Regions from separate parts of the Homo sapiens genome. Here region 1 is linked to region 2. The links are contacts of gene promoters, found by promoter capture Hi-C in blood cells and fetal thymus (Javierre and others, 2016). All regions are on one chromosome and are shown on one strand. Each heading gives the region's core, a stretch centred on a gene start or on the middle of the fragment in contact. The rest is flanking DNA. Distances are from core to core; before and after follow the strand shown.

Region 1 (6,981 bases), core at 1,941-4,440, 460 kb before region 2:
CAAACTTTTCAGGATTTCATTCAAAAAAACAGTGCTTGCTTTTAAATGTTCCCAAATTCCGTTATTTTTTAGAGTTACTCTATAGTTCTAAGATGTCAGAATTATGAGTAACACTGAAACTGTATTTTTTATCAGGTTCCCTTTTCAGACTATTAATTTTAACTATTATCTTTCTTCAAATAGCATTTTAGCCTTGCACCTGTAGTCCCAGTTACTCAGGAGGCTGAGGGAGGATTGCTTGAGCCCAGGAGCTCAAGTCCAGCCTGGGCAATATAGTGAAACCCTGTCTCTTAAAAAAAATAAAAAAGCACCACGTTCTATAATTTCTGTTGTATCTTCACCAATTATATCTCTCTTGATGCAACTAAGAGCCAGAAAAAAAATTTTTTTTTTCTAAAACACTTAGTGATAGCGGCCAGAATTTTTCTGTCTTTTTAAAAGCACAGCAAAACACTACAAGAAGATCTCTGGGGGACATTTTCTTACTTAAAACTACTGACGAGTCACAGGGAAAACTGGATTGAATTGGAAGACTACATTTAAGTTTTAAGTTCCTGAGAAAAGGGGCTATGTTCTTTTTGTTTTTTTGAGAAAAGAGTCTCATTCTGTCCCCCAGGCTGGAGTACAGTGGAGCAATCTCTGCTCACTGCAAGCTCCGCTTCCCACGTTCAAGCACTTCTCCTGCCTCAGCCTCCCAAATAGCTGGAATTACAGGCGCGCAACACCACACCCAGCTTTTTTTTTTTTTTTTTTTTTGTATTTTTAGTAGAGAAGGGTTTCGCCATGTTGGCCAGGCTGGTCTCAAACTCCTGACCTTAAGCAATCCACCTGCCTTGGCCTCCCAAAGTGCTGGGACTACAGGTGTGAACCACCGTGCCCAGCCTGTCCTTTTTTTAAATTCTGAGACAGGATCTTGCTCTGTCACCCAGGCTAGAGTGTCATGGCAAGATCACACTCACTGCCAGCCTTGACCTCCCAGGCTTAAGAGATACTCCCACCCCAGCGCCCCAAGTAGCTGGGACTACAAACACCTGCCACCATGTCTAGTTAATTTTTTAATTTTTTGTAGAAACAAGGTGTCACTTTGTTTCCCAAGCTAGTTTCCAACTCCTGGGTTCAACTGATCCTCCCGGCTTGGCATCCCAAAGTGCTGGGATTACAGGCATGAGCCACCATACCCAGCCGTTTCTTAAAAATAATAACTGTTTCAGGCTCGGCACACCTGTAATCCCACCATTTTGGGAGGCAGAGGTGAGTGGATCACTTGAGGTTAGGAGTTCAAGACCAGCCTGGCCAACACAGTGAAACCTGTCTCTACTAATAATACAAAAATTAGCTGGGTATGGTGTCACGCACCTGTGGTCCCAGCTACTCAGGAGGCTGAGGCAGGAAAATAGCTTGAACCTGGGAGGCAGAGGTTGCAGTGAACCAGATCACGTCCCTGCACTCCAGCATGGGTGACAGAGCAAGACTGTGTCTCAAAAAATAGTAATAATTTCCTCTAATTCATTACAAAAGTGATACATATTCATTGTATGGATTTTAATAACACAGACAAGCAAAAAGAAATAAATCATTCAAAATTCCACCAACCAGAGATAAGAGTATTAACAATTTAGAATACAGTCGTCCCTCCATTTCCTCAGGGGATTGGATCCAAACCCACCCCTCCAGCTGATACCAAAATCCACCACACTCAAGTCCTGCAGCAGATATAAGCTGCTCCTCCATATCTGCAGGTTTCACATCCCAAGAATACTGTATTTCTGAACCGCATTTGGTTATGGTGAACCCTCAGATACAGACAGCAAACTGTATTTATTGAAAAAAAAAAAAATCCAAGTATAAGTGGACCTGTGCAGTTCAAACCTTGCTGAAGTGTCTACTATGTATCCTTCCAAGCTTTTTTCCTATCTATACATGCACTCTTACATGACTAAAATGGGAACGTACTGTTAATATAATTTTGTAACTTTTTTCATTAATATCTCTGATAAATATCTTTCAATATTATTTCAGCACAGTAGTCTGCTATACCATGGCACACATTTAATAACTAATTCTCTGTTGTACAGTTGGTTGTTTCCAGTTATTGATCACTATAAATAATGCTGTGATAATCCCTGAGGCTAAGTCTTTATGCACATTCAAGACTATTTCCTTATACGTTCCTAGAAGTAAAACTGTTAAGGTAGAAGATATTCTTTTCCCTTTTATCACTTATAATAGCCAGTATAACACTAGATAGTATGCAATAATTTTATGCAGTTGAGACCCCAGAATAAGTAAGCAAAGTACTAGAGAAACTTCTTTGAAGATGTTCAAGAAAAGACAGACAAATGTTGGCACTTCCTATCCTCTCATAACATTCAGTATCTCTCTTAATTGCCCAGGAAGGCCTAAGTATAATTTTACCTAAAGCAGGAGATGAATGTTACAATCTCTTAAAGAGTTTCTACAGCTAGCAAATTTACCTTATTTTGGAGAAATAAAACCTGTTATACCAGAAAAGAAAGAATAAAAAGGTAACTTTCTCAGAAGTATCTCTGTACTCTTACCTTTTGTTGGAACTGAAGAAATCCCAAACCTGAAGAAGGAAAAACAAACTAAATTTTAGGAAGCTGTTCACACTCCTGGTTTGTCTGTCTCCGTGTCAAGTATACATATGACACTTCTTGCTTGTGATCTCAAGCCTTGCAATCATTAGCTAATTCTAACAACCCCATGAAAGAGGTTCAGAAATTAAGCTAAAAGGAAGCCTTATCAGAATTAGTAGTAGTCAGTTCCTGGCTTTAACTGTTACAAAAACCCTTCTCAATAAAGCTCAATTTATAGCTACTATAACCAAATCAGTAGACATGTTCTGAATAGGGTCAAAAAAGTGTTCATATCCTTCAGCAAGCCTCTATTCTACTTAAAATCAACAATTATACCTAAAAGCTAGGATCACACATCTTCATCTTTACAACACCCCTATCAGAGGCCCAAAAGGCTGGGGACACTCACCTAGCTGCCCGAGCAGCTTTCTTACTCTCCAAGCTCACAGGTACATTGAATCGTTCAGCCCTCTTCTGCATTCTCTAAGTAAAAATAGACAAAAGGGAGAAAAAAAAGTCAATTTATGGTTTAAGAAAGTCAGTCAGAGGTAGGTATCTTTAAAAAAAAAAAAAAAAAAAAAAAAAAGAGTCTCACTCTGTCCCCCAGCCTGGAGTGCAGTGGCATGATCTCGGCTCACTGCAACCTCAGCCTCCTGGGTTCGAGCGATTCTCGTGGCTCAGCCTCCTGAGTAGCTGGGATTACAGGACTGTGCCACTGTGCCCAGCTAATTTTTGTGCTTTTAGTAGAAATGAGATTTCACCATGATGGCCAGGCTGATATTGAACTCCTGGCCTCAAGTGAACTGCCCACCTCAGCCTCCTAAACTGCTGGGATTACAAGCGTGAGCCACCTGGCCCAGCCAAAGGTAGGTATCTTAAAAACATCAGAAGTAATTTCTTAGGGTCTAAACTGAAAATACTGACAATCCTAGAAGATATCAGGTTGTGTCCATGCTAGGACTTAACGGCCCTTCCCACAAAGCAAACAAAAAAAGACTATTACTAGATGCCCTCAAAAACAAAAGGGAGAAATAAAGTAAAACCTACATTATGCATGAAGCCAAGAAGTCAAAAGCTATGTTTGGCTGACCTTTGAAAAGTGATCAAAGGAATAGCTTGGTTCCAACACCAATGGTATTCTTTCAGTTAGAAATGAGGCAGCATTGTTTTATGCCATTCTAAAAGAGTTTAATAATTCTCTACTTTGCAAGTATGATACTGAACACAAGATCTCAAATGGAACCTGGTTTCACAGTCCTGCACCACAGAAACCAGAGAAATTTCAATCTCAGCTACTGGCCAGTAGCAACATAAGAGTCACATCTACCAATACATTTTCAAGGTACAATCCTCCTAAATCTAATCCTAGGTTTGAAAACATCTCAAAGAGAGTCACTGTTAAGACCATAATATTACATATAAAAAGACTACAACTTCAAGAATGACTACCCCTACGCCAGCCAAATATTTTCCAAAGAGTAGCTGGCAGTGAAACGTATCAACACCAAAATCTGCCAATACTGATTTTCTGCCTGTGAATAAATTTTAGAGGATGATGCAGATATAATAAAGGGTAAGAGGGAGAGAGAAATGTAGAGACTGTTCTACTAGGGAGCAGAATACCTACCTCAGTCTGTGGTATTTCAGATGTAATTTTCACCACTTTCTTCTCTGCTGCCCTAGAAAAGAAAGAGATTTTTTAAAATGAGAAAACTGATATTCTAAACCACAACCTCAGAAATGTGTAAGAATTCACCTGAGTCACCATTCTCTGCCCTATTATCTCTCTGCCACCCCCTAAGCCAAAGAAACATGAAGTCCACTAGAGCTTTGGTTCCTTTAACTGTCATCTATTGAGAGGAAAGAGTTCAAATAACAAACTAAGCTTCTTTAGCTAAAGTATAATAAAGAAATAAGGAAAGAAGTCTGGTTAAATATACTGGGCTGAAGGGAAACACTCAAAGGACACCAGAAACCATCTCATTTGCTTTTAGGAACTTTTCAATTTACTTTTATTTTTCTGAGACGGAGTTTTGCTCTTGTCGCCCAGGCTGGAGTGCAATGGCACGATCTCAGCTCACTGCAACCTCCACCTCCTGGGTTCAAGAGATTCTCCTGCCTCAACCTCCTGAGTAGCTGGAATTACAGGCACCTGCCACCACGCCGAGCTAATTTTTGTATTTTTAGTAGAGATAGGGTTTCACCATGTTGGCCAGGCTAGTCACGAACTCCTGGCCTCAAGTGATCCACCCACCTCGGCCTCCCAAAGTACTGGGATTACAGGCATCAGCCACCGAGCCCAGCCTTTAATTTACTTTTGAACTAATGAGTAACCCTCCAATCCTCCTTTAAGTACCACCTCCCAATGTTCATCACAACAATTAATAAGTACTCTACAAGGTCTGGTTTCCTTCTTTTAAAAATCCCTTATTTCTCCCATGGGGAATGTAGCTCTAGCTGGAACAGTCAAAGTGAAACAAATAAAAATGCCAAAGAAGGTAGGAAGAAAAAAGTCTAAGGGGAGTTTGAATTAGGAAAACATGGTAAGCTAGTGGTCAAAGGTTTAAGAGGAAACAAAAGAGGGGGGACCACAGGGGCGGGAGACAAAGTTCGGAAGTACCCACGATAAATGGAAGGGCATTAACCCTCCACCAAACAACTCCCATAAAACTGTGGGTCATAACCAGTCTCATTAAGGTCCCTCATTTAGAGACATGGGCAGCTTTTGTTCCAATATCCTGAACACTTTTCCCATTTGATGCCCTGAAAGGTAGTAATGGTTTAATGACATTTTCAGAGGAAGCAATTCTGGAATAAGAACTTACTCTCTTCCACCCTTTTATTGGAAATCCCTGGACTGAAGACAAGCAATGGGTGCCCCCTGCTGACTATAACGAAGTCCTACGATATGTAACCGCTTTAGCTGGTTGGGGGTTGGGAATCAAACTAGAAACAGGTATATTTTTGGAGAACTTCAGGCCAAACATGAAGAAGGGGATCTCCTTTTAAATAGTCAAGGAATCTAAACTAGCCCTGGCTATTCTGACGTTTAAAGAAATTTCTAAACGCTTCCCATTTCCTTGCCATCCTTCCCTAACCTTGTCTTATAATTTAGGCACAAAAGGCTAAAGTTTAATGTTTTACTTGAAATCCAATGCCATCAAGAAAGTAGTACTCTCCATCAACCCCAGTGTAATGACTTCCTCCCCATTACCATTCTGAAGCACAGTCAATGCAGTGCACATCATGGCAGAAAGGGAACCCCAGACGGGAAGTTTCCTTCCATTCTATTACAATTCCCTTAGGCAACTAAACTCAAGCGCAATAAATAAACATCGAATTCTGGGATGCATGGGAAATTTCCACTCTTCACTGAGAAATTTCTCTCCTACCCAATCACATAAACAACATTCCCTGAAATACAGAGACCCAGAATCTTTTTGTACATACTTCAGTCTAACCACAACTATCCTCTAAAAATCAAAAACGATCACCCCACCCACTTCAATTTCCTTGTTTCAAAATTCATTAATAGAATTAAAGCCCCCTGAACAGAATGCACATTTTAAATATTCTATGAATAATGAACTTCAAACTTTCGAACCTCTATTTTTTAACCCACAGAAGCCAATTATCATGGTATTCACTTGATCTTCTTTCTTGTTCCAGAAATCCCCATAACATTTCTATTTTAAAGCTATCTCACAAAGTCATTTTTTCAAGGCACTATATCTAATTATAAACATCTTATGATGGAAAGATAACTAAATGGCTTTAGAAAGTAGTATTTGATAGGCTGGAAAGTAGTATTTGATAGGCAGGTGATTACTGGCTCACACCTGTAATCCCAGCACTTTGGGAGGCCAAGGCAGGTGGATCGCTTTGAGCTCAAGAGTTTGAGACCAGCCTGGCAAACACGGCGAAACCCCATCTCTACAAAAAATACAAAAAAAGAGCTGGGTGTAGTGGCTCGTGCCTGTAGTTCCAGCTACTCAGGAGGCTGAAGCTGGAGGACTGCTTGAGCCGGGAAACGGAGGTTGCAGTGAGCCAAGATTGTGCCACTGCACTCCAGCCTGGACAACGGAGTGAGTCCCTGTCTCAAAAATAAATAAATAAAGGGATATTTGACAAAAATCTATCAAGATGTTAAATGTACATCCTCTGTGATGCAGCAAATCCACTGCTAGGAATTTACCCTGTGGGTATACTTGTGAGTATAAATAATTAGAAAAGGACATGCAGAACTACATTTTTTTTTAATGAATAATCTAAATGTCCATCAACAGAAGACTGGTGAAATAAATTACTGTTTATCCATAGAATGCAATACTATTAAATGCTAGAAAGAACAAGGTTCTAAGTTGATAACTAGTAAATCTGGGTG
Region 2 (7,170 bases), core at 613-3,112:
AGCCAGGGAAGTGATGAACTGAGGAGGAGGTCCCCCTTTCCCTGTCTTCAGGGCTGATGGGAATAGGATAAAGGACCCAACTGATGAAATATGTTTGGCCCCTGTGCTGTCAACTTTCAAGCTGCTTGAGGGCCAAGGATGCAACAGATTACTATACCCATCCTCCATCACAAGGAAAAGAAATCTCAGTGCCCAGAGGGGGATCAGACTCAAGGTGGCCCCCCAGGGAGGGATGAGTCACTCAGGCCTGGCAGCAGGGCCCCCGCAGTCTGCCAGCCCAGTGTTAAGCTCTTCCTGAGTCACATCAGCTGGCAGCACTCAACCCCCTTACTGGCCAGTTCTAGGGGTAGGAGGAAGGGGCCAAGATTTGATCTCCTCACTACCTGGGGTAGAACAGCTTGTAGGGCTGAGGACTGAGGCTCCTTAACCCTTAACCCCCACCTTTAAGCAACTTATCCTTTTTGAAAGGGTAATAGAAGGTGGGGGTGCATACCTCGTTTCGGGAGGCAGCAGCACGATGAAGAGGGGTCAGCCACAGTGTGTCCTTAGCATTGACATTAGCACCTGTGGGGATATAATTTCCTATTTTGATGGAAGGTGGGGAGGAGGTATGAAGGAAGCCAGTAATCAGGCCAGGAAATCTGAATGGAGCTGGAGCCTCGCCTGGACCAAGCCGGGGAGAGCAATCCTTGAATATCAAAAAAGACTCCTCCCCTCCCTTCGCTCCCTATGTGCCACACCTTCCAGCTCCCCACTTTCACCTGACATCAGTAGCAACTGGAGGATGGGGACATCGCCTACGTAGGCAGCAGCATGCAATGGAGTTCGCCTCTCTTGGTCCTGGGAAGGCAAAAAAGAGCAGGGAGTATGGGCGCGGGGTAAGGGGGCTATCAAGGACCCCAGCCCAAGTCTCAGAGCTCCAGGCCCTTCCCCACAACCTCTTCCCATAGTTTCTGCAGCGTCCTAAGTCCCGGTATTGGGAGTCAAAGGCAAGCACCTAGGGAGGGTGGAGTCAGGGCCAATGGGCTGAGAAGCCGGCTCCTTTTTCCAGGAGGGGTGGGGGCGCTGCAGACTCCGGAGGTTGAGAAGAGAACAACGTTCCTGGGCATTCCCAGCCCAAGTGATCTGGGCTTCAAGCCTGACCTGCTCTCCATCCCCAAATGCAGAGTAGGCTTTCACTCCAGGATGGAAAGAACTGCGGCCTCATCTGAGCAGAGGAGACACGGAGCCGCCCCACCGGTGGGGAGGGGTCCAGAACACGGGAGCCAGGATTCCGGTCTCGCCATCCTCCCTGCTCCCAACTCACCAGCACATTGATGTTCTCCTTCTGCGAGAGTAGGGAACGCACTTCCTCCACATCTCGGCTAAAGATGGCCTGGACCAGGGGCGGCTGCAGAGAGAACCGGCATTCTGAGAGCGGGCTGGAGCCGGAGCGGAACCGGTGTGGGGGTGGGGGTGGGGGAGCACCTAGGTTTGAGTGGGGGGCGTCCGTGGAGGGGCTCCACTCTAGGGATTCTGGCTGGAGCGAGCTCCCGCGGTGCCTCCGCCGGTTGCCAGGTCCCCAAGGACACCGGCTCGGTTGAGGGGAGCGCGGCATGGGGCGGGGCGGGAGCTGCGGGAGCCCCGGGCTCAGGCCCAGCCTAGGCCGCACATCCCCGGGCTCGCGTGACGGCAGCGCCGAGCCCTGGAAGGAGGAAGCGGGAAAGGGCAGGAGGGCTGACCTGGTCCGTGATGCTGAGGATCCCCATGGCTCGGCCCGGGCTCCGTCCGCATCGAGCTCCCGGCGGCGGCGGCGGCGGCTCCACCGGGGACACGGAGCGGCCCAGGCGGCGGCTGCGGTGGCGGCTGCAGGGAGAGCGCGGCCCCGCCTACCGGGGGGCGGGCGAGTTGGAGGCCGCAGCGCTCCCTGGCGGCCGTCCTGGTCCCGGCGCTCCCCGCGCAAACGGACCCCGGCCGCAGCGCCCTCCGCCCCACCCTGGCGGCCCCAGCAGCCCCTGCACCCCCGAACTCGCGCGCCGGCTCCCCGGCTCACGCAGCTGGCCGCGCTGTGCTCTCCGCTCCAGTCTGGCGGCCCAAGGGGTTCCCCACAAGACCCTAGCGGAAACCTGGGCCTTAGTCCCGCGGTGCTTCCCAAACTGAGGACCGAACGGCTGGCCAGATCTTACCCAGCCCACAATGCTCCCGCCCGAGCTAACTCCTCCCGTCAGCGATTCCACACCCCGAAATCCCCCACAGACTAGGAGGAACTGGCGGGTGGAGAACTGGGAATTATGTATGGCAATAGCCCCAGAGGGAGGGAAAGCGTGTATCTCCACTGGCGGAGGCGTGAGTTCGGTAGAGAAGAAATAGCAAAAGTGCTCAAACTGCAGAGAAACCCCAAGGAGGATTCTACTGCAGAAAACACCCACAAAGAGGCCATGACAACTGGCAGCTGGAAAAGGCCGCCAAGACCAACAGAAGGGGCATTTTCCAACTCCTTACTGATTCCATTGCAAGGTTAAAGTGGAAAACACTCAACAATTTCTCCCCAGAACAGCCTGTGGCGCTTCCCCTCCTCCAATGGAGAGGCCAGAGAGCCGTCAATTAGAGAAGAAATGAATGGAGGTCATCTCAACCCAGAAACGGAAAAAGGAGGAAGACGAAAAGTGGAGATTGAAAAATTGATACAATTTATAAAAGGTGATCCAGGGTCCTGTTCAGAGTTTCACAACTCAATACACATTGAAGAGAACACGAAATGGACGAAGTGCAGCATGCTGGCGTCCTGTCAAGGCTTTATATATAAAAATCCTCCCTTGAGGGGAGAGGAAAAAAATTAAAAAATAAAAATACATTTTATTTTATTTTTTGAGATGGAGTTTCACTCTCGTCCCCCAGGCTGGAGTGCAGTGGCACGATCTCGGCTCACTGCAACCTCCGCCTCCCGGGTTCAGTGATTATCCTGTCTCAGACTACCAAGTAGCTGAGACTACAGGCGCCCGCCACCCTGCCCGGCTAATTTTTTATTTTAGTAGAGACGGGGGTTTCACCATGTTGGTCAGGCTGGTCTCGAACTCCTGACCTCAGGTGATCCACCTGCCACGGCATCCCAAAGAGCTGGGATTACCGGCGTGAGCCACCGCACCCGGCGAAAATACATTTCAAAAAAGCCTTCCCGGCCGGGCGCGGTGGCTCACGCCTGTAATCCCAGCACTTTGGGAGTCCGAGGCGGGTGGATCACGAGGTCAGGAGATCGAGACCATCCTGGCTAACACAGCGAAACCCCGTCTCTACTAAAATACAAAAATCAGCCGGGCAGGGTGGCGGGCGCCTGTAGTCCCAGCTGCTTGGGAGGCTGAGGCAGGAGAATGGCGTGAACCCGGGAGGTGGAGCTTGCAGTGAGCCGAGATTGCGCCACTGCACTCCAGCCTGGGCGACAGAGCGAGACTCCGTCTCAAAAAAAAAAAAAAAAAAAAAAAAAAAAAGCCTTCCCATTCCCAACATGGTGAAACCCCATCTCTACCAAAAATATAAAAAAGTAGCCTGGTGTGGTGGTGCACGCCTGTAATCCCAGCTACTGGAGAGGCTGAGGCAGGAGAATCACTTGAACCAAGGAGGCGGAGGTTGCAGTGAGCCGAGATGGAGCCACTGCTCTCCAGCCTGGGTGACAGAGCCAGACTCCATGTCAAAAAAAAAAAAAAAAAAAAAAAGCCTTCCCTTGCTTTCCTGCTAGAAAGATACTTAAGACACTAGTAACAGTCCTTTTTTCCCAGAAAGAAAAACTGGGGTACAGGAAATAAGGAATGAGAGAGAAATTTACCTATCACTATATACCTTTTGGAATTTTTTAAATTTTTACCATATTGAAAATAAAAGTTAAAATATTGCTTAGGAGCAATCACTCCGTGATTCCATGCACACACAAAAATTATGAAGAAATTTAAACTTACCTCTTCCAGGAAGTCTCCTCTGGCTAATAGGCTCTTTTCCTTTTGTTAGTTCTCCTTAACACTTACATACTTAGTTTATACTGCCACAATCTGGTTAAATTGTACACCTTTGTTTCTCATTTCACCTTTTTTTTTGGAGACCAGTGTCGCTCTGTCGCCGCCCAGGCTGGAGTGCTGTGGCGGGATCTCGGCTCACTGCAAGCTCCGCCTCTGGGGTTCATGCCATTCTCCTGCCTCAGCCTCCCCAGTAGCTGGGACTACAGGTGCTGCCACCATGCCCGGCTAACTTTGAGTAGAGATGGGGTTTCACCATGTTAGCCAGGAGGTTTCAATCTCCTGACCTCGTGATCCGCCCGCCTCGGCCTCCCAAAGTGCTGGGATTACAGGCGTGAGCCACCGTGCCCAGCCAGGTATAGTTTTTTTTAAGCTCCAGAATATCAGTATAGAGAAACAGGCATTTAATATTTGATGACTGATGATGATGATGAAGCAGCAGCAGAAACCAAAGGTAGCAAAGGATCAAATGGATATGGGTGTTGGGACTTGGCTATTGGGTATGATGGGCCTTCCAGGAAGGGCTAAACTAGGATATGGCCCAGAGGATAAGGAGGAGGGGCATACATGGTATCCATTGCCCAAAATAACTCTAGGTAACCTGAGGAATTGGAGTCAGGGGTTCAGCTGGGGTCACGTGCCCGGTTCTGGCTAGGGGATGGAGGTGAACAAGAGAGGTTGCCAGCCTGGTTCTCTGGGCAATTGGAGGGAGGAGGACGGGCTAGAAGAGTTATTTTTAATATTATTTAGAGCATCAAAAGAGGATTTCCCAGTAGGAAAAAAAGGGATTTGATGTAGGGAACACTGATACTTTCAGGGCTCAGGGAGACACACAGGGTATGGGAGGAGGAGGCCAGAAGTGGTGATAAAACCTTCTTATATGGACAGTCCTTCTGGATTGAACTACAAGCATTCATATTTGGGTAACTCTAGACAGATGGCTGCCTATTTTTAAGCCTCAGTTTTCCTTCTTCTGACTAAATGTGAGGACTCACCCGATGTACAGCCCTGTACTAATTGGTCGGGAGGTCAAAAATTAGAAGTAATGGTGTCTCTTTATGAGGAGCTTATAACTTAGTAGATGAACATACATATACATGTGAAACAACTACAGAATATAGGATACATGCTAGATTACATGGCATTATGTGTTCAGAGTAATGTTGAAGGAAGGGTTCAGTCAAGAGGGTCTTCCTGGAGGAGGTGTGTTTTGAGTCAGTACTTGAAGGAAGTTATTGATGTAGAATGGTGGAGACATGGGAAGAAATCGGTTGTTTCAAGTATAGGGACTAAACTAGGAAAGTTTAAATGGCAGTAATTAGTTAAACCAATTAGTAGGGGACAGTAAGCAAATTGGCTTGGTAGGCCTGTTGGACCTTGGGGATTCTGTAGCAGTCAACTTGGTTAAGGCAGAGTGATAATGAGGTCACAGTTCAGTTATGTATCCCTGTTAATTTCTGTCTTTTAACCAACCAGATCCTTACTCCTCATTCAAAGCAGCTGTCTCACATGTATAAGCCCTTAGTCAGAGGCGGGTGGGGCTGGACAAGACAGTGGAATTCGAAAGAGTAAATCTGTCCTTTAAGGTCATGTGCCCATCTGAAGGTGGCTCCAGATTACCATTTGTGAACTGGAAGGAGGCACTGTACTACAGTAGTGGAAAGGAGGACTGGGGGATGTGGACATTTTAACAGACTCTCTCTGGAGTGCAGAGGCGAAAAGAAGAGATGTTAGGAAAGAAAATAAGTGAGATCATCACCCAACTTGGGGTATCACGGAAGAGGATAAACGGAAAGGTGGCGGCCGGGCACGGTGGCTCATGCCTGTAATCCCAGCACTTTGGGAGGCCAAGCAGGTGGATCACCTGAGGTTGGGAGTTCAAGACCAGCCTGATCAACATGGAGAAACCCCGTCTCTACTAAAAATACAAAATTAGCCGGGTGTGGTGGTGCATGCCTGTAATCCCAACTACTTGGGAGGCTGAGGTAGGAGAATCGCTTGAACCTAGGAGGCTGAGGTTGCAGTGAGCCGAGATCGCGCCATTGCACTCCGGCATGGGCAACAAGAGTGAAACTCTGTCTCAAAATTAAAAAAAAAAAAAATTAAAAAAAAAAAGAAAAGTTGACAAAACACATTTATAGTCCAGGCATGGTGGCTCATGCCTGTAATCCCAGCACTTTGGAAGGCCAACGTGGACATATTGCTTGAGTTCAGGAGTTTGAGACCAACCTGGGCAAGAAGATGAAACCCTGTCTCTACCAAAAATGTGGTAGTGTGCCCCTGTGGTCGCAGCTATTTGGGAGGCTGAGGTGGGAATATCACTTGAACCTGGAAGGCAGAGGTTGCAGTGAGCCGAGATTACACCAATGCACTCCAATCTGGGTGACAGAGTGAGACCCCCGTCTCAAAAATTAAATAGATAAATAATAAAACATATTCATTTGGTCAATAATTATTTTGAATTGGTAGTACTAACTGCTATAGAGGTAGAACAGCTTATTAAAAATGGGTTTTGATGATCACCCAATGGCTCTTGCTTACTTGAAATCCAGAGAAGATGGGCTCAAACTTTTTTTTTGAGACGGAGTTTTGCTCTTGTTGCCCAGGCTGGAGTGCAATGGCGCCATCTAGGCTCACCGCAACCTCTACCTCTGGGGTTCAAGTGATTCTCCTACCTCAGCCTCCCGAGTAGCTGGGATTACAGGCATGCACCACCACGCCCGGCTAATTTTGTATTTTTAGTAGAGATGAGGTCTCTCCTTGTTGGTCAGGCTGGTCTTGAACTCCCAACCTCAGGTGATCCACCTGCTTGGCCTCCCAAAGTGCTGGGATTACAGGTGCGAACCATCTCGCCCCGCATTTTTTTTTTTTTTTTTTTTGAGACAGAGTCTCCGTCTGTCCCCCAGGCTGGAGTGCAGTGGCACAATATCCACTCACTGCAACCTCTGCCTCCCGGGCTCAAGTGATTCTCTGCCACAGCCTCCCGAGTAGCTGGGACTATAGGTGCGTACCACCACATCTGGCTTTTTGTTTTGTTTTGTTTTGTTTTTGAAACGGAGTCTCGCTGTGTCGCCCAGGCTAGACTGCAGTGGCGTGATCTCGGCCTACTGCAACCTCCGCCTCCCAGGTTCAGGCCATTCTCCTGCCTCAACCTCAGCCTCCTGAGTAGCCAGGACTACAGGCGCCC

What was found. The method cuts DNA at HindIII sites, captures the fragments that hold promoters and counts their contacts. A CHiCAGO score of 5 or more calls a contact.
Region 1: a fragment that was not itself captured here is called in contact with the fragment with the promoter of ANKRD52 in region 2 in 1 of 17 cell types (total CD8 T cells); the score reaches 5.8 in total CD8 T cells.

What each region holds. Positions count from the first base shown.
Region 1 is chr12:55,791,801-55,798,781 of GRCh38, forward strand. SARNP (SAP domain containing ribonucleoprotein) reads right to left here. Exons shown (of 11, transcript NM_033082.4): 5 at 4,225-4,276; 6 at 3,007-3,080; 7 at 2,559-2,587. Among named protein-coding and RNA genes, the nearest start is that of SARNP, 22 kb to the right of the region's middle. RefSeq lists an enhancer at 6,419-6,920. The HindIII fragment of the contact is 2,580 bases long and covers 1,901-4,480 here.
Region 2 is chr12:56,256,522-56,263,691 of GRCh38, forward strand. ANKRD52 (ankyrin repeat domain 52) reads right to left here and starts at 1,863. Exons shown (of 28, transcript NM_173595.4): 1 at 1,722-1,863; 2 at 1,307-1,390; 3 at 762-840; 4 at 494-564. The coding sequence starts at 1,748. RefSeq lists enhancers at 1-865, 1,172-1,221, 1,302-1,351, 5,875-6,044 and silencers at 1,412-1,481, 1,502-2,051, 2,062-2,121. The HindIII fragment of the contact is 14,479 bases long and covers 1-7,170 here.